2 separate regions of the Homo sapiens genome follow, and region 2 is linked to region 1. Evidence: promoter capture Hi-C in human tissues and cell types (Jung and others, 2019). All regions are on one chromosome and are shown on one strand. The core of a region is centred on a gene start or on the middle of the fragment in contact, and the rest is flanking DNA. Distances in the headings are between cores, read along the strand shown.

Region 1 (3,907 bases), core at 962-3,461:
CACTTATCTTCTTGATGCTTAGGGTTTCTAGAGACAAGGGATGTTGAAGCTGGAAGGAACTTCATAGCTCATCTTGGTCAGATCCCAGCATGTGCTCTGTATAACACTAGGCTCAAAAGATGCTTCATGAGAAAAAAAATCAAGATATTCCAGCATTTTCTTTGGATTTAAACTCACACCAGGCTCAAAAGATGCTTCATGAGAAAAAAAATCAAGATATTCCAGCATTTTCTTTGGATCTCAGCTCACACCAGGAGCATACTTCTCAGTGGTTCAATTTGCTTGGCAGGATCTCTGGTCTTCTGCTTGGATGGATCTCTGCAGGGTCCAGCGTCCTCTAAATTGGAGGCTCTGAATCAGGGATTCCTGAAAAGGCACAAGAGAGGCCCAAGCATGAACCTCTTGAAATTGTTTGCAAACTTCAGTCAGTGTTGTGTACATGTGCATGTGTGTGTGTTCCTGAGTGTCCATAGCTTTCATCAGATTCTTACAGGTAAATATCACCCGAGAGAATGGATAAGAACCACTGCTTTTTTTTTTTTTTGAGACAGAGTCTCACTCTGTCACCCAGGCTGGAATGCAGTGGCTCAGTCTTGGCTCACTGCAGCCTCTGGGTTCAAGTGATTCTTGTGCCTCAGCCTCCTGAGTAGCTGGGATTACAGGTTGCTCCACCATGCTGATTGATTTCTGTATTTTTAATAGAGATAGGGTTTTGCCATGTTGGCCAGGCTGGTCTTGAACTCCTGACTTCAAGTGATTCACCCGCTTGGGCCTCCCAAAGTGCTGGAATTATAGGCGTGAGCCATCACACCCAGCCAAGAACCACTGCTTTAAAGGGACATTGGTTGACTGTGCCTTCCTAAGGTAAAGGCCTTCTTGTTTTCTTCCAACTTAAACATTTTATCTGCTACACTCAATAACCATCGAGTATGTTTAAGAGAAAGTGCTTTATATAACAAAGCAGAAAGGCTCTTGATAATAACTTAGAGGCTTCATCCTTGCATTTTTCTCAAGATGAAAACGCTAACATAATGAGCTGTCAAGGTAGGTTCATCAATTGTAACAAATGGGCCACTCCAGTGGAGGATGTTGATCATGGGGGACGCTGTGCGTGCGTGGGGAGAGGGGATATATGACGTGTCCCTATACCTTCCGCTCAATTGTGCTGTGAACCTAAAACTGCTCTAAGAAATAAAGTCTATTAAAACAAGCAAACCAGCCAGCTGCAGTGGCTCACTCCTGTAATTCCAGCACTTTGGGAGGCCGAGGTGGGTAGATCGATTGAGCCCAGGAGTTTGTGAAACTCCCTCTCCACAAACAATTTTTGTAAAAATTAGCGGGGTGTGGTGGCACGTGCCTGTAGCCCCAGCTACTGGGGAGGCTGAGGTGGGAGGATTGTTTGAGCCTGGGAGGTTGTAGCTGCAATGAGCCATGATTACGCCACTGCACTCCAGCCTGGGTGACAGAGCAAGACCCTGTCTCAAAAAAAAAGTTAAACAACAACAAACCCAACAACCAACTAACCGAAACACTAAGAATCAGAGAAGTAAAATATAATTCGCTTCATCCAGACAGCTAGCCCGGTGAGGACTACAACCTTCCTCTCTTCCTTCTTCACTTCTTTGCTCTCTCTTTTTAAACCCACATCTTAGCAATTCCTCTGCTATTGGGTCATTAAATCGCCACCTCTAATTTTTTTTTCTAAGCATTTATTGAGGGCCAAGCACTGTGTTACACATCTCCTCATTAAAATGGTATAGCAACCTTTTCTGGTCGATATTATGATCCCATTTTTCAATTTTTACTTTTGAGTGAAGGACATTGATTCTTAGAGATTGTAAGGAACTTGCCCAAGGCTGCCGGCTGGTTAGTGGCAGAGCTGGGATGGGAAAGTCCGTATTTTCCACCGCGCTGTATTAGTGAGGGCTCTTTGTGTCACTTCTGTGCATAACTCCGCCCCAAGTTAAAAGGCTCGCTGCTCTCGACAGGTCCTCCTCCTCCTCCCGCTAGGTCCTCCTCCTCCTCCCGCCAGGTCCTCCTCCTCCTTCTCCTCCCGGGGCCCTGCCCTGCGGGTCTCACCTGCTGCTCCGCGGGGTCCCGGCGGGGGCCGGATAGCGCCCCCTGGCGGCAGGTGGGCGCCCGCGCAGCGCATGCTAATGAGCCCGCGGCGCCGCTCGCGGATTGGCTGGCGCGGATTCCAGCTGCTTTCCAAGTCAGCGGCGCCTAGTGAGAGTCAGGGGGGCCCGGCCCGCGCCCTCCCCGCCCAGCCGCCTCCCCGTCGACGCCCAGGGCTGGGGCGAGCCAGGCTGCCTTTCGAACTTGGGGGGCTTCTCCTCTTGTCTCCCACTGGTGCTCTGGCTGTGAATCCATCCAGGGGCCAGGATGACAATCCGACACCAAGGCCAGCAGTACAGGCCGAGGATGGCATTTCTCCAAAAGGTAACCCTGGCCCCTCACCTGGACCCTGGGAGGAGGGCGGGGGACCGCATCTGCGAAGCGTCCGAGGACAAGAGGGGCAGGAGTGGAGAGCACCCCTTTGGGTCGATTTGTGCTGCTCGATTTTATTAAGTGACTTCTTTGCTGTGTGTGTCGATATTGATGGCTATAATAATTAGGTTTTCGTGTGCCCTGCCTGTAGTGGAGAATCTGAAGCCAGCGCTGATGGTCTGCGGGAGGTGAAAACAACCTGTTACTCGGGAGAGGCAGGTTCAGTTCAGGCTGTGGCAGATTTGAGACAGCCTGCTGATATTGTTGTAAGACGACCAGATGTGACATTGCCATTTTTGCCTTTTTTTTCTGATCCCAAACTGCACTATTTTAAAGTGTGTGTGTGTGTACACATAGACCATGAAAACGGGGTGATTTGTAGGATAAAGGGCCACCCCATTTACAATGCCCTGAGAGCCCTCATTTGAGTGTGTCTATCTGTGCATCTCCTGCTGTCTGCGCTGGCGGCAGAAGTCCCAACCTTTTCGCTTCCCTTGCGAATGCTTTCCCAGACAAAGTGACCGGGCACAGGGTGTGCACACAGGATGGACATGTGGGAGGTGGAATGCACCTGTGGGGTGATGTGTTTGGGGACAAAGTGGTTCATTTAGTTCTGAGCTTCTGGTATAATCACTGTCCGATGAGATCTACAGAGGATTAGGTCCCGGGTCACATCTTTGTCCTTCCTCCCACCCGTAGCCACTTTTCACAGCGTAGTGTCCATCTTCTTAGGCTTATCTTGTTGAGTAGAATTAGTTGAATGTTTTGTGACAAGCTGAGCTCTCCCTGAGCCCCTGGAGCTCAGCAAATTTGTATAGTCAGTGACCGCTGTCCTGATTTGCCCAGGACTTTCAATGCTAAAACCTGGACAGTCCTGGGGACCCCGAGACGGTCGCATTTGGTCCACCTGTTTCAAGATGCTCGTGCTCATCTTCCGGGTAGCAGAGGTGTGGGTATCATCTGTAAAGCAGACAGGCTGAATGTTGTCTCACTCAGAAAGAACCCTGAGAGCCTGTATTGCAGATACCAGTTACTAAAAGCAGAAGAAACTGCCTAAGTCGGCTATCTCAAAGCCACACATCATCTTCCAGGATTTATCCTAGGACTGTCTCCTCCCAGGCAGGACAGCTCTGGCTTGGGGGCTCAGAGGGTAATTGTCAAGAGATAAATTCAGTTTGTTTATTGAATCTCTGGCATTCTTTTCCATCATGACTCTTCTCTGGTAGATTCTCCTCTCCTTACCTTGGTCTTCTGACTAGTGTCTTGGTCTCTAGTTTCTCTCCTCCACCCCAGGCTTCCCTCCTCCTCCCCAGCCACCCCTCCTCCACCCCAGCATCCCCTCCTCCACCCCAGCATCCCCTCCTCCACCCAAACTCTCCCTCCTCCACCTTAGTCTCCCTTCCTCCACCCTAACCTCTCC
Region 2 (3,991 bases), core at 1,233-3,732, 310 kb before region 1:
GCACTAGTTATTGCCTTTTTTATTACAGCCATCCTAGGGGGTGTGAAGTAGTATCTCACTGTGGTTTCGATGTGCATTTTCCTGATGTCTAATGATAATGAGCATCTTTATTGGCCATGTGTGTATCTTCTTTGGAGAAGGGTCTATTCAAATCCTTTACCCATTTTATAACTGGATTATTTGTCTTTTTATTGTTGAGTTATAAGTGTTCTTTATACATTCTGGATACTAGACCCTTATCAGATATTTGATTTGCAAATATTTTCTCCCATTCTGTGGGTTGTCTTTTCATTTTCTTGATAGTATCCTTTGAAGCTCAAAAGTTTTTAATCTTGAAATAGTCTAATTTTAAATGTTCTTTTAAAAGCAAGATGTTATTTGTATATTATATTTAAAAAGTACATACATACTTCGTTCAATTGAGCACCTACTAGGTGTTGGGTTAGGGTATACAGGGAGAAATAAGGCATACCCTCAAGAAAGGCATACCCTCATGGAGTCAGTTTGTGCAGCTGTTGTTAGAAGGCTGGGTTGGCCAGGCTTCTGCCCTAGCTCTGGAGGGTCCTGGGGTGGGATTCGGCAGGCACTGGGGGTGGGAGAGTGGGGGTGCAGAGGGGAGGGAAGAGCCTCTGCATGAAAGCCAGCTGGGAAACAGGTGGAGCTGGACTCTCCTGTGGCCAGGACGGGGAAAGGCACGTCTCTGAGAGCTACAGTTTCTTTCAAGCAGAGAGTTCTCTGAGCTGGGAAGCAGCAGTGGGGAGGAAAGGAAATCCTGGCTTCTCCCCGAAAGCCATCTCAGGATGCTGCTAAGGCACCAGCCCCAAAGCTACCTGACTTCCTACCTCTCCAAGAGAACAGAGAGCTCTATCTGGAGTACCCAAGATAGCCCAGGAGGGTGCAAAGGGCTGTCCAAGAAAAGGTCCTAGGGGGCTCCAGTGAACTGCTCACAAATAATTACATTTAGAATATCCCAGAAAATGGTAAGTGTTCAGATACATGTAAGTTACCAATTTACCCCCATTACTGAAACAACAAACCAGTGCCTGGGAATATCTGTTTCCCACCCATTCAGTGCTTTGGCCAGACTGTGACCAAATCATGGCCTAAGGGCAGAGGGCTGAAGGGCTGAATGGAAATCCTTGGTCTTCAGGTTACTGATCTTAAATTCCCACTGCTTTTCATAAATCTCCATCTTATCACCAATAAGGTGATCTAGAAAAGACAGGGTCTCCTCAGAGCCTGCTTGTGCTATAACTTTTTCTCAACCTGGTCTCTCTTGCAGGACAGTGCCCATTCATTTCGAAGTGAGCCAAGCCGATGATACAACTGTCCCCTGCAGCCCTTCCCCGCCCTTGATCCTCCCTCACCCACCTACCGGGATGGCAGCCTGGGGGTCCAGTCCATTCTCCACCACTGAAAGCATCTCCACTCACGCAGCTGCTCCCTCAGAGAATCACATGACACCTGAAGAGACAGATGGCAGCCAGATGAATGGGCAGGGAACTTCCCCCCAGCCAGAGTCCATTCCCAGCAAGCAGCAGGAGGTCAGCCTCTCTTACTCAAACTGCAACCAAAAAGGCCTTTGAAGAACACAAAAGTAAAAACTGATAATAGATTTGAAGGAAAGAAACAAGGAAGGAAAGCCCAGGGGGCTCAGTCATTGGGAGGCAAGGAGTCCTGGGTGCCAGGGGTGGGTCCACCCCAAGGAGTAGGTGGTAAGGGCGCTTCACATCAAATGCTGCCCAGAAAGCCAAGGCCCTGTAGGATCGAAACCTGTAGGCAGGGAATGACAGGCTGATTCAGATACGGAGCTGCAGGTTCGAGGGGGAGGCTGCAGCTGAAGGTGGCAGGAACCCACTGGGACCAGGAAGCAGGGGCTCACAGGCTCACACATCACATTCAGGGGCTGGGTCCTGCAACACCCTGCCCCCACCCCTCACTCCTGTCCCAGTCCAACATCTGCCAGCTCGGCAGTAAAAAGTACCACTGGAACGGCTTCAAAAGGGGAGGGCTCCCTTGCTACACTTCTGCTCCTCATTTGGGCTTCGAGGGTCTGGCTTGAGCAGCACAGACAGGGACGTGTCTAACCGGGATGACCATGAGGTCTCATCGCAGTTTGCCACTAACCAGGGAGACATGCACAGACCTCTCAGAAGGAGAATGTGTAAAATGCCTGTCACGGGGCCTGATATGTGCCTGTACCTGATATGTTGTACCTGGCATCTGTCATCCCAGTGGATGTGGCCACCTAAACCTACAGACCAAGAATGTCATCGCCTAAATGAGTATGCAGGAAGAGTTGAAGTCAGTGAGTGGTTAAATCCCTCAGGGCTGCCAGCTTCCTCCTGGGAGTGGGTGGGGTGGGGTGGGGTGGGGTGGGTGGGGTGGGGACTTTAGCCTGAGCCTGAGGGGGCTGCTGACTGGCTTGGCCCCACCACAGCAACTTGGACAGACCTGGGCCAGGCAGGCACATTCACTCGTAAACAAATCTCTAGCCAACTCCTGGCTGAGCATCAGGGGAACGCCGGGAAAGGTGATGTCTGTCTGTCTCAGCTCTCAAACAATCACCGCACAAAGAAGTTAACAAAACCAAGAAAAGTTAAATGGGCTCAGTTCTCTTTACATATATTGCCTAATTTATGTTCCTCCTAAGGACCCTAGGAGTGCTGTTTTATTGTCTCCACCTGACAGATAAGGAAATGGCAGCTGACCCAGGTCAAGGAAGTTCCTGAGGTCCCAGGGCTGATAAGCGGCCTGACTCCACCACCAGCCCCCAGGAGGAAGCCAACCCCAGCCCTAGGAAAACCCGATTCCTAAGTGAGTGCTGTAAACCAAAAATAAAATTCTAAGCTCCCCAACTGCCTGAATGGGCCCCCCTTGGCCAAAGGGATTTCAAAAAAACTGAAAACTGAGTTCAGGCCATGACAGGAAGTGGGGCGTGGGCCATGCCTCATCCTAGCCTCTCCCTTTTGGAGCTTAGACACAACTGACCAGCATTAACATTGAAACAGACTCCTAAGACTGACAGAACAGACTCTCAGCAATTAAGACACCAACTCCAACCTGACTGGTCTAACATCACATGGGAGATAACAAGCCCTAAGGAAATCAAAGTATCTTACCCCCAAGTATATTTTTGACATAGTTTGGAATGGCCCTGCAAAGCCATCTCTTGTTGGGAAAATCTATGTCCTGCAGAGATTCCCTTCCCTTTCTAGGCCTTTTCCTGATTTAGAGGAGATTTAACTAAGAGTCTGACACCTTAGAGACATTTACCATCTATTCTCTTGAAGGCTTCATCTACGTAACATGAACCTTGGCTTTCACAACCCACCTTATCTTAAACCCAAGCTTTTCTTCTGCTGACTTTTAACTCTTTAGGCAAAGTTTAACTTTTTCAGCCAATTGCCAATCAGGAAATCTTTTAATCCACCTTACCCTGTCCCCACCAATGTATACCTTACATATATTAATTTATGTCTTTGCCTGTAACTTCTGCCTGTAACTTGGATAAAAATCAAGCTGTACCCCAATCACCTTGGGGACATGTTCTCAGGACCTCCCAGGACTATGTCACAGGTCATGGCCCTCACATTTGGCTCAGAAGAAACCTCTTCGAATATTTAACAGAGTTTGGCTTTTTCATCAACAGTGCCATCACCTCAGAGCTAGGATTCCAGGGGTGGTCTGGGAAGATCCTTTCGCTGGGGGCCGGGAACAGGGGGTGCAGGGGAACATTAAGGCCAGTGTGGCAGGAAAGGTTTCCTGGACAGCCCTGGAGCAGCATGAGGTTTGGAAAGCAGACAGGCAGGCTGGCCCTAAATGGTGGAAGGTGCTCTGATTGGATCTCTGGCTTCTGGGGATAGCAGAGGGCAAACAGGACACAGGGAGTCAGGACCCAGAGCCAACCTCCCTAAGTCAGGTCCCTCAGGAGGAAGCAGGCATGTATGGAGGATGGTTCCTGCAGACCCAGTAACAGGCCGGGTGCTGC

The links. Contacts are between HindIII fragments. The study calls those that stand out against the background at their distance.
Region 2: a contact is called between a fragment that was not itself captured here and the fragment with the promoter of RGS9 in region 1, in 1 of the 25 tissues and cell types used here (hippocampus).

The regions. Positions count from the first base shown.
Region 1 is chr17:65,135,159-65,139,065 of GRCh38, forward strand. RGS9 (regulator of G protein signaling 9) reads left to right here and starts at 2,212. Exons shown (of 19, transcript NM_003835.4): 1 at 2,212-2,439. The coding sequence starts at 2,383. RefSeq lists a silencer at 1,902-2,401. The HindIII fragment of the contact is 16,688 bases long and covers 1-3,907 here.
Region 2 is chr17:64,827,786-64,831,776 of GRCh38, forward strand. It overlaps the pseudogene PLEKHM1P1. Among named protein-coding and RNA genes, the nearest start is that of MIR4315-2, 7.7 kb to the left of the region's middle. The HindIII fragment of the contact is 4,114 bases long and covers 426-3,991 here.